Regions from separate parts of the Homo sapiens genome. Here regions 1, 3 and 4 are each linked to region 2. The links are contacts of gene promoters, found by promoter capture Hi-C in blood cells and fetal thymus (Javierre and others, 2016). All regions are on one chromosome and are shown on one strand. The core of a region is centred on a gene start or on the middle of the fragment in contact, and the rest is flanking DNA. Distances in the headings are between cores, read along the strand shown.

Evidence for each region. The method cuts DNA at HindIII sites, captures the fragments that hold promoters and counts their contacts. A CHiCAGO score of 5 or more calls a contact.
Region 1: the fragment with the promoter of MYSM1 here is called in contact with the fragment with the promoter of ATG4C in region 2 in 1 of 17 cell types (naive CD4 T cells); the score reaches 5.2 in naive CD4 T cells.
Region 3: a contact is called between a fragment that was not itself captured here and the fragment with the promoter of ATG4C in region 2, in 1 of 17 cell types (non-activated CD4 T cells). The highest score is 7.3, in non-activated CD4 T cells.
Region 4: a fragment that was not itself captured here is called in contact with the fragment with the promoter of ATG4C in region 2 in 3 of 17 cell types (total CD8 T cells, non-activated CD4 T cells and naive CD8 T cells); the score reaches 6.8 in total CD8 T cells.

Annotation. Positions count from the first base shown.
Region 1 is chr1:58,698,796-58,701,668 of GRCh38, forward strand. It overlaps MYSM1 (Myb like, SWIRM and MPN domains 1), which reads right to left and starts at 1,267. Exons shown (of 20, transcript NM_001085487.3): 1 at 1,190-1,267. The coding sequence starts at 1,257. RefSeq lists enhancers at 762-821, 1,032-1,441. The HindIII fragment of the contact is 3,791 bases long and covers 12-2,873 here.
Region 2 is chr1:62,782,599-62,785,422 of GRCh38, forward strand. ATG4C (autophagy related 4C cysteine peptidase) reads left to right here and starts at 1,534. Exons shown (of 11, transcript NM_032852.4): 1 at 1,534-1,675. RefSeq lists enhancers at 1,235-1,284, 1,385-1,444, 1,565-1,744 and a silencer at 1,720-2,014. The HindIII fragment of the contact is 3,523 bases long and covers 1-2,699 here.
Region 3 is chr1:67,426,854-67,429,694 of GRCh38, forward strand. The region is part of intron 1 of SERBP1 (SERPINE1 mRNA binding protein 1); the gene reads right to left. Among named protein-coding and RNA genes, the nearest start is that of SERBP1, 2.1 kb to the right of the region's middle. RefSeq lists an enhancer at 2,086-2,722. The HindIII fragment of the contact is 686 bases long and covers 944-1,629 here.
Region 4 is chr1:67,682,101-67,685,092 of GRCh38, forward strand. No RefSeq gene overlaps it. Among named protein-coding and RNA genes, the nearest start is that of GADD45A, 1.6 kb to the right of the region's middle. RefSeq lists a cis regulatory region at 510-1,002 and silencers at 2,765-2,944, 2,955-2,992. The HindIII fragment of the contact is 1,492 bases long and covers 700-2,191 here.

The DNA of each region.
Region 1 (2,873 bases), core at 17-2,516, 4.1 Mb before region 2:
CTCATCTGCAAAGCTTTGAGGGACAATGACCATATGAGTTTAATCACCCCTCACGTCTTTATAGGGCTTTAGAGTTCATGATACACTTCTAAACACACTATCTTAGTGCCTCAAGCGCTGGGTTAGTACTTCTCCCCTGTTCACAGAGGCCCTAATATTAGGCTGAACTACATGAAGTTGCCGCTTTATAGAACAAAAATGGTCTAAATATTGGCAATTTCATATGGTTCAAGCTAATACAGTTCTAAGGAAATTGTACATAATTATAAACAACATAGCTGGCTGACTTTAGAACTCAGGCTTTCTGATTCCTGGCTAGTCTAGGACTCTTCATGACTAAAAGGAGACTCATTTTTGATTCAGAAAGCAAGGAGTCAAAGGAGGTTCTGTGTCAAATCACACTGGGCTGTTTGTTCTGCTGGAACAGGTATTTTAAAAAATGTGATCCCTTACTGGATTCTCACAGTACTGTCCCCGAGGGTAACAGGATGGTAAAGAATACATTCAGAGGGCACCTACCGTATGCTAAAGCATATCTCATAATCATTTCATTTGATCCTCCCAATTACATATCATGACTCCCAGTTTAAATATGAGCAGTCTGAGGCTCAGACAAGTTAAGTGTCTTGCCCAAGGTCACATTGCTATTAACTGGTAGGGCGAGCAAATGCAGAAGGAAAACCCAGAACTGTCCAACTCTAAAACCTGGCCCATTTAAGTCAACCTGCTTCTCGGGAAGTTTTACAACTATCCCCATGTGGAAGAAGGGATGAAACGACTCGCCCAAGGTCACACGGCTAGCAAGCCATAGAACAAGAGTCCCTGACCTCAGGTCTCGTCCGTAGCCGCTCTTGTTCTAGTTACTGTCGATGAGATCCTGAAAAGGAGGGAACGGAAGAAGGAATCTAAATGTAAATCAAACGCAATGTGGTAGGCGAAATCGGTGCCCTCACAGCATCCGGCAAAAGGTGAAAGCGACCCAGGAGTACCTGAGCTCCAGGTAACCGCCCTGCCCGCTGGGCTTGGGACAAGCCGGCGGGCGAGGTGCCTCCCAGGCCAACAAGAGACCCTGGCCCAGGGGACAGTCTTCTGTTCCCTTTTCCCTTGCCGGACCTGCAGCTTTCCCAGGGCCCGCTCCTTCAATCCACTCCCCTCTCCGCCCCAGAGAGACCCGGTCTCTAAGCCTCACCCTGGCTGTGCCCCCGCCGCCGCTACCACGTCCCCTTCGATATCCACATCCGCCTCTTCAGCCGCCATGATGGGACCTGACCCCGTCCGTCCTCCCGAGAGATCCCGCGAGACGAAGATGGCCCGGGGGCAGGGCCTAACGCGTCACGGGGCGGGATTGAAGCGTCGTCCGGCCCCTCCCGTGCCGGGAGGCGGGGTTTCCAGAGCAAAGGCGCCCCCAGAGGCCTGGGGCTTGGTCCTTTCTAACTTGTTGACATGTAGAGACCTTGGGAAGTGGCCCACGCCTGAGCTTTTTTTTTTTGAGAGGGAGTTTCACTCTTGTTGCCCAGGCTTGGGTGCAATGGCGCGTATCTCAGCTCACTGCAACCTCCACCTCCCGGGTTCAAGCGATTCTCCTGCCTCAGCCTCCCAAGTAGCTGGGATTACAGGCATGCGCCACCACGCCCGGCTAATTTTTGTATTTTTAGTAGATACAGGGTTTCACCATGTTGCCCAGCTGGTCTCGAACTCCCGACCTCCCGACCTCAGGTGATCCGCCCGCCTCGGCCTCCCAAAGCTCTGAGATTACAGGCGTGAGCCACCGCGCCCGGGCCCTCCTGAGCTTCTAAGAGCTTCTGTTCTTGCACACATTCTTTGGGACCTCACTGCTCTCACTGATAAAATGGGGATAACAGCAGTATCTTTCTGGACTGATGAAAAAGTCAAGCTAGACCCGCTTTGTGAACTGAAGGTTGCATACCTGCTGGTTATTTAAGTCTCTCTCTTTGTTTTTTAAAGAAAAGGGTCGTGCAGCACTTATGTGAAGTCGTTCAGCATTTCACCTAAGTGCTGAACAACTTTTATTTTAAAATTCAACAAATATTTAAGAATATAACTTATGATTGTGTAATTTATTTTGTAGACGTCTTTGCAATTTAAAAATCACGCTCATGACCATTAATCCTTACAGTGTCCCAGTGAGGTAGGCAGAGCTAATATCACCAGTTATACTTTACAGGTGAGGTAACTGAGGCCTGGAGAGCTGAAATGACTGTCCAAGGACAGGTAGCTTCAAAGACAGAGCCAGGAGTAGAATCCAGGCTTTGTTGACCCTCTACTGAGTGCTCACCATGTAACAATCATGTTGTTAGAAATTGGAGGATAAACACCACTTCTGTCTAGTTTATAGTTTCTCAAGAAATTAGATACTGACAGCCAGATGCGGTGGCTCACACCTGTAATCCCAGCACTTTGGGAGGCCAGGGAGGGCGGATCACAAGGTCAGGAGTTCGAGACCAGCCTGACCAACATGGTGAAACCCCGTTTCTACTAAAAATACAAAAATTAGCTGGGCGTAGTGGTGGGCAACTGTAGTCCCAGCTACTCAGGAGGCTGAGGCACAAGAATCGCTTGAACCCAGGAGGCAGAGGTTGCAGTGAGCCGAGATCACGCCATTGCATTCCAGCCTGGGTGACAGAGCGGGATTCCATCTCAAAAAAAAAGAAAAGAAAAAAAAACCCTTCTGCATTCCCCTGCCTTAGCAGCTATCACTCACACCTTGTAATTTTTCATCCGTCTGCCTTCTGCACTGGACTGTGAATTCCTTAAGGACAAAGACCACGTCTGCTAGTCCTTACACTACCAATATTCAGCATAGTGACACATAGCAGGTGCTCAATAACTATTGAACAGAGGAATGAATGAAT
Region 2 (2,824 bases), core at 284-2,783:
GAAAAAATTTCAAGTTTAATTTTGAACTTTTCAACTCTTCATTCTTGAAGGTTTTCATTCCCATGTGGTTTCATAGTCCGGTGGCATAGACTTCATATTTTATTTTTAGTTTTTAGTATAATTTCCTATGTAATTCAGAAGCATGTCTGGTAGTCCTTGCTCCAACAAAATCTGCGGTACTGTAAAACGGCATAGGATTACATTTTACAGTAACAGTATTTCTCTTGACATCATTTAGGAGTGAAGATAAAAATTTCCACTTATTTATTTATTTATTTATTTATTTTTACTTTTTTGAGACAGGGTCTTGCTCTGTCGCCCAGGCTGGAGTGCAGAGGCACAATCTTGGCTCACTGAAAACTCCGCCTCCCGAGTTCAAGCGATTCTCCCGCCTCAGCCTCCTGAGTAGTTGGGACTACAGGCGCGCGCCACCGCACCCGGCTAATTTTTTATATTTTTAGTAGAGACGGGATTTCACCATGTTGGCCAGGCTGGTCTGGAACTCCTGGGCTCAAGTGATCCGCCCGCCTCGGCCTCCCAAAATGCTGGGATTACAGGCGTCAGCCGCCGCGCCTGGCCAAAAATTTCCACGTTATAAAAAGCATCTTCGGACCGTCCTTTTTTCTTTCTTTCTTTTTCTTTTCCTTCTTTTTTTTTTTTTTTTCCCCACAAAGCCTCGCTCTGTCGCCCAGGCTGGAGTGCAGTGGCGCGATCTCTGCTCACTGCAACCTTTGCCTCCCGGGTTCAAGCAATTCTCCTGCCTCAGGCTCCCGAGTAGCTGGAATTACAGGCGCCCGCCGCCACGCCCGGCTAATTTTTTAATTTTTTAACAGAGACGGGCTTTCACCATGTTGGCCAGGTTGGTCTCGAACTCCCAACCTCAAGCGATCCACCCGCCTCGGCCTCCCAAAGTGCTGGGATTACAGACGCGAACCACCGCGCCCGACTGTCCTGTGTTTTAATGCTTGAAAATAATCTGAATATGGAAAATGAGTGCACATATCCCTTGATGTTTTATAAATAACCTACAGTCCTAATAATGGCTTGGCTTAGAGTTCCTTCACAACAGGAAAAGAAGGCATCCTGGCTTTTTTTTTTTTTTTTTTTTTAAATCAAAGTGAGGCTTGGGTTGGCTCTATCTTGGTCCTGAGTGCGAGGAAGGAGGGCCGCAATGCATGCTGGATCTTGCAGTTCCTACGCCAGAGGCAAGGGCGTGATGCTGCATGGCCTGCTGGTAGTTGAAGTCCAAGTGCTCGAGAGGAATTTATGGCAGCCGTAATGTGGTTTGTCTATCAGAGAGACAATGCTCACAGACGGATACTTTCTCTTGGTTCTGCGCTTGCTGCATTGGTGGATTAGCGGCTTGGGGTGGCGAACAGGTGGGAAAAAGGGATGGATAAAGTAAGCATAGCAGAGGCCTTTACGCCGCTGCTATCGCTACTGCCAATCGCAAGGCTTTCGTATCCCGGAAGTGGCTGATCTGTTGGATTTGACGCGGAGGCGGTTCCTCTTACTACGGTGGCCGGGGTGCTCAAAGTACCTGTAGCTGCGGCGCTGAGGTCGGAACGTCTGCGTGTGTGCGGGCTGGTTTTGTGGCGGCTGCTGCTAGAGCTGGAGCATTTGCCGGGTTGGTGGCTCCTGCACATTTTTACAGTTCTCCAGTCCTTCTCTTTCGGTGAGGGATCGGCTTGAGGCTAAAGGAGTCAAGAAGTTTGGGACTTAGCGTCTCTGGTCCCCGAATGACTGGGTTTCTTGCGGGGGTCCGCCTTCAGTGAAGACCCTGTGGCCAACCATCTGGGTTCTCTGAGGGTTTTGGCGCCTTCCTTGTCTCTCCTTTCTAGTGTCATTTGTCTTCTAACTCTTCCTCGCTTTGTCCTGGGTTGCAGAGATAAACCGTAAGCCTAACTGTGGGCAGCTGTTCCTCCTTTCCTTGTGGTTTTCTTAGATGTTGCAGGCAAGACTCTTTCCCCTGATCTATCGCATCCATTTGACCCCTCCTCATGCCAGTGCTCTGTCGGCCCTGTTTTTCCTCGTTTAAAAAATAAAAAAAGGGAAATAATAATAATAACTGGATCCCCACTGTCTCTCTGTTCTCATTCCTAGCCTCTTTCTCCCTTTTTGGTGTTTGTTACTGCTTCAAGCCATAACACACTGCCTTGCATATATTAATGCCTTTCCATCTAAATATTAACGTTCATTCACTTCATTTGGTTCCCGCTCACCGTGAACTCTCCCAACCCTACCCACATCTAAGGGCTTTTGAGGTTGGAGGTGTAGAATAAATTCTTACATATGATGACTATATTCATATATGAGAACCTTCAGCGGTCAACTCAGCATCACTGCTTATTGAGTTTATATTTCTTGTGATTTCTTTGGCTTACCTTTTCGTTTTGTATTGGTTATTTACCCACATGGGGCTCACTGCTACCCTATAGTTACAGAAGAATACCTCGTCTTACATCTTTTTATATCCGAATTACTTAGGAGTTTTCTTATGTTTTCCTGCTCGGACCATATGTCCCCGGTGGGTTTTTGGCAATGATTTTGTGTCAGTTGATGGCAGAAAGAGACAAGGGAATGATCTTCTTGCTTGCTTGTGACTTGTAATTAGATTATGAGCCATTGAGAATACCCAGAGGGAGTGGAAAGGCTTTGAAAGGTAAAGTCTATGTATTTTCTGAGTTTCAAATTGATAAAGCTTCTTCTTTGAACAGGAAGAGTTTCTATTTAGTCCAATAATCTGAGGCTATATTGAATTACCAGTTCATTCGCTATAAAATTTTTAGAACCACATGTCAAAAAGTGGCCCATCTAAAGAATT
Region 3 (2,841 bases), core at 37-2,536, 4.6 Mb after region 2:
AAATCTGAAAGGAAAATATGGCATTTAGGATTATTAGAGAACATCACTTCAGTTTAAAACAGCCATTTAACCAGAAAAAGTGTCATCTTTTGGTCTTCTTAGCTACAGGCACACAAAAAGGGCCATCTTCCCCTATTAAAGTTTAAAATTTTATAGCATGTAAGTGTATATATGTTTGTACACACTCCCACATCCCTAAGTACTTCCAAGTTAGGAAACAGTTACTTATTATGCATGGAGAGAGTCCTCTAAAAAATTTGCCCTAACAACTATCTTTATTTTCAAAGAATCTTTAAAAACCAAATACACACACGTTAAGACCGCTTTTAAGCAACATGTAAGAAATAAGAAAACTTGTGACACTAAGTGATAGCTGAAGCATTTACTAATTTCCCCCTTTACTACTTTTTTCCTGTAATGTCTGAAACCCCACAAAGGCAACCAATTTAAATTATTGGTGCCCATAAGGATCAACAGATTGATGGTTAAATTAATGACTTTAAGATTGTTGGTATGCTCTAATTCCCAATTTCTGACAAAGTCATAAAGCAGCTGAGGAATTGGTTTTACAAGATTTTAAGCTGCTTCACTTTGGTTCTTTCTAAGAAAGTAGAACACCATCAAGACACACCCAGTTGTTCTGCTGCCTGTTAACTGGAGCCAAACAGTAACTATCAATCTCTTCAATAGAATTTTGAAGTTCATTCCCTGTAAATACTCAAGATAGACTACAAATATTAGACCTTACACCAAGGTATTTAAATAAATGTCATCAGTAATAAAGTGCACTGGGGTGGAGTTATGGAACCAGTCCTTGCAATAATATCCAAGCCAAACACACCCAAGTGAACAATAGTTGGCGTCCCCACCCAATATCAAGTTTACAGAATCTTAAAAACGTATTAAACCTACCTAATGAAAAAGACTGACATTTAAAAATGCAAGCTTCTTTTGATATACTTATCTATAACTTGCAAGCTCACTAACTGCACTAGTTTCAAGGCATTCATTCTTTTTTAGAAAATCCCTGGTCTACACTCTCAATGACATTCTGCTGTCAATTCTCAAGTTCTTCAAATGGGCAAGAGAATGTACAAAATTAATTCATAAAACATAAACATTAAATATCTGTCTAAAGTATGTCAAGTATTATGTCACAATGTGTTATCAAAATCACAGAACACAATCAGGTTAACCTTCCTACTACATGCAGCGACTTTGTTTACAGATTTATTCCCAGTAATCAGGACAGTAGAATCTCAAAACGGGTATTGTCCATTCAACACTTTTCCTGTATTTTACATGCTTGTATTTTATGCAACTTAACAGTAGTGCTCTGAAATACTGACCTAAGGAAAATGCTGATTGCTAACATGGAATAGTTTTCCCATGGAAAGACTCATTGAACGGTGAACCTAAGTCTTGGTTCTAACTTCATGAAATCATTCCCCACATTTGTTAACTTAAAATACTACTTTTCAGGTAAGAGCTTATTTCATAGATGGGCTTCATGATCAAAATAACTCAGGCATTTAAACCATGCTTCATGTTTTGAACATTCAAAATGAGTGAACACATCTACCTGGTACACATTATTCGTCAGATTCAACTTTTTCGTGTACTTTCTTAAGCTTAAGCATAGTTTAAATAATTACACAAGTCAGCGTTACTTAACACACGAATTAAATGATTTATTTAATTGTGCTAGATTGCCATAAAGCTTAACTGGCTGAAGAGATACTTGGCCTAAGTGATATACATGCTTTCTAATACTCCAACTGTATTTTTCCTCAACCTATAATTTTACCACAAGAATTAATTATTTTCTTTTATTCACCACCTAGGACCGAGGTTCTTCATTCCGAGCCTCACAAAAGTCCTCAAAAAAAAAAAAAAAAACCCTCCTAAAACAAATCCTACCACGAGAAAATTGTTTTGATTTTTAAAATTAGTTCACTGTTACAGAATTCAACTAAAGCTAAAGAGAAACAACTCCTTTCAGAGAAGCACGTGGCAGGAAGGGGTAATTTCAACTTTCAACATATAAATGCAGCTTTAAAGATTCAGACCTTAGGTCCAACACCTGCTTGCTATTGATCATGCACGTTCTTATCTCCAAACTGCTTGCTCTTTTTTTTCATCCGCAACAAACTGGTAAAGCGAATGCAAAAATCAAGACAATCCTGTGAAACTCACAGTGCCCTAGAAACAACTATTAACCGCCAGTGAAACTCTGACCATGCTTCACGCACATGTGGTGGAAAAAAAAAACTGCGAACTCTAAAGAGCTCTGCTGCGACTAACGCTGTGACAGCCTCTGCACTCACTTCACCCACGAGGCCCAGACCCCACCACGTGAAAGATTCAGTTTGGGGAGTCGAGAGAGAGGATCGTGACTCGAGGACGTTCCTCGGGATGTCCTGCAATCACCAGTCTTCATTCATAATTCCCGCTCCTGGTTAATCGAGTGTGGCCAAACTCCTCCATTTCCCAACGGCTCAACTCACCCCAGCAAGTTATGAGAAAGTCCTAACAGTTGAGAGGTGGAAGAGAAACAAATAAAGGACATGCGGCACCCCAACCTGCAGCTTACTCCACACGTCTGATGGCCTGGAACGACCCCCTGCTTTTCAGCGGGGATACTCCGCGCCGTCGTGGGACAAGACGGCAGGACAGGAGCCTGAAACAACAGCACCTCAAAGGAGCAGCTCTGCGCAGTAAGCAGCGATGGACCCCCAAGCTCCTCCGTAACTACGGAAAGCTTCGGTGAGGGGCCGGCTTCCCCGCACCTCAGTCCATGCGCTCACCCGCCAAGGAATCCGGCGGGAAGGCAACAGCCTC
Region 4 (2,992 bases), core at 196-2,695, 4.9 Mb after region 2:
ATACATCCATCATAGTTGAACTGATCTTCTCCTTTGATGTGGACAATGATCTAATACTGAAATAACAAGCATTATATTTCTTTCAGATGTTAAAGCATTGATTGTTTTTTGAAAGAAAGAAAGAATAATTCTGCATTATGGAACCAGTAGTAGGAATGTATGTAGGATAAGCATGACTAAAATATCAAAAAGATCTTTAATATGCAAAGCAAGTAGCAGTGCTAAAATAATTGAACAATTCTTGAGTATATATTTCCATATGATTTCTAAATATAATCATTTGGTATCTTTACAAACATTACTACAAGAGCATTCTACTCCTGTGTACTTGGCAGTTGTCAGAGTTACCTGTAGTGGTTTTTAAAATGACATCACATATTGGAGTTATCACACTGATTATAAAGAAATATATATATATATATAATATTGATATAGGAAAATTTCTCTGATTTACCATTGACTATCAATGTCCTCCAGGACTAATAAACAGTTAATGATAAATCAACTATGTCCATTCTAATGTGTAACTACAATCTAACTGTGTAGCTAAATGCAGTTTTTACTTCCAGTCATGAGGCCCAACTTTGAAGATAATCACTGAGAAAACATTCTAGGTATACTCAGCAATCAGGCAAAATGATGTAACGTATCTGAGTCAGAAAGTATGACAAATGAATATTTTTGCATACTGGAAGCCCAAGCTTATCTCAGAGAAAATCCCCAAAATACTTGGGCAAATAACTTTCTGATGAAGTCAAATATAGCATGCAGTATAATTTTTGAGTGGAGGACTAAGCCTATAATAAGAAGTAACCATTTGATATCACATTTTTACTGGATATAGTCGACTTGGGTGGGGCACTTTAGGACTGTGGTTCATTTGAATTGGTGTAAACAATACACCGGTTCTACTGTCCTACAGCCTCCATTCAGATGACTGAAGTCATGGGACTTTCAGCATAGCTAGCTGATGACAGTGCATACTATTTTGTCCCAAAATCCAGTTCAAGCATGGACATACCAATAAGAGCCTAAGCTCTTTAAAGGCAAAGGACCAGGAATTGTACAGTTCTTGGTATAGAAGAAGACAGGCAAAAGTGTTTTTGAACTAACGTTAAATGTGCAATATGTTAGAATTCATGCAATGCACAGGACTGCAGGATTCTGATATCTTATTTAACTCTCAAATTCTATTCAACTCAATAAACCTTGACTGTGCTTCTACTAAATGCAGGTATTGTACTAGGAGCTGAGGACACCAAACTGATGAAGTCCTTGCTGTCAAGAAACTCACATGATTCCCTAATTCTTTGTCAGCTTGCTGTGATCACATTTTCTTCCCAAGAACCTCTAAGAAATGCCTAGTGGATAGAACCTTGGAGTTCCACGGAACATATTAACAATCGCCAAATGATGACTCAGGCTAGATTGTGTAATTCAGGTTTTGTCTGCAAAACTGAAAATGCTTCGGTAACCTACCTAAATTTCAATGTTGAGGAATTCTTTAAGAAAGACATCAAATGTTAAGATTTAAGGCATAGATATGAGATACATAGTCATGCTTAGGTGAATTATGCACTGACCATGACCATTTCTTTACTCAAATGTTGTCCATGGCTGACAACACAGTGAAAAAATGAGTGCAAAATGACAACTCAAATAAATGAACCAGAAAACCTATCACTTTTCTTTTCCACCAAATTAAGATCAAGAGAGCTGGAGAATATTTTGTCTAGAGTGATAAAAACATAAGGGTGCAAAACTTCCAGGTACCTTTGCAGAAATTACTTCTGTGACCTTTGGCTGTACAGCAACCTTAATAATGCAAGCACTGTTTTGAATGCAAGCATGTGGGAGCCATTTTCACCACTTTTGATGACTTCAGTAGGTTTAAGAAATGTTTTTGCTTTTATTGCATAAACCATAAAACAAAGGAAGGGACTTTTGAACTACTCAGTGAGAGTCTATATATTAAAGTTTGTTTTTCAAAAATGTGTAACTACCATTTGCAGTTTTAAAGGTCTGCTTTCCACCTACAAGTTGCCATTATCTCAAAGGTGAAATTTTAGCATATGACTAAAAACTTCCTATAGTTACAGCTTCATGATTCAGCATCTAACATCAATAATTCACAGTGAGATCATAGGAGGCTCTCTGTGGAAGGTAACGACATACATACGTTAGGAAAGGAAGCTTAGGGCATATCGAGAGCATTTTGAATTTAGACTTGTGGGCTGTGTGGGTGTCAGATGGTTGTCTCTCAGCTGGTGGGCGTCCAGAAGGATCCTTGTTTGGGCAAGGCTCTTTGAGAAAGGAGAATCTGGGTTGCCAGGGATTCCCACATGTGGTCACCAGCTCCCCACGCAGACCAGCTCACGATTTCCCAGTTACACCGGGCAGGTGGGAAACCGTTCTGCTTTCTGTGGAAAAGATTCTAACTTGGTTCCCTGCCATCCCTGAATACAAACGGGTTGGTTTTTCTTTTTTCAGCTTCCAACCCTTGCAGCTTTCCAAAAATAAATCAAACCAGCCATCAGGGCACCGAAATAATACTACTGCTAATAAGCAGCTTCGCCTAGACTTAGATAAACAACACTTCTGAGGTAAACTTTGCCCCGGAGGTCTGGAGACACTTTTTTAATGTAACCTGCTTACTAATAATTACTAGACTTCAGTGCATTAACCCTGGAAATAGATTTTAATAGCCACCCCTTAAAACAAAAGACATGAAAAGATAATAAGAAAAAAGTGCCGCAACTATTATAGAAAAACACTTGGCAGCCTGCTTCAGCCCAAGCTGAGGCCACCTCTAGCCTCTGCTAAAGCCCCCCACTCCCAATGGTCCCCGCCAACCGGATAAGAGTGCGCGCGGGACCCGCCTTCCCCTCTCGGCACCGCCCCCGCCCCCGCCCCCTCGGCTCGCCTCCCGCGTGGCTCCTCCCTTTTCCGCTCCTCTCAACCTGACTCCAGGAGCTGGGGTCAAATTGCTGGA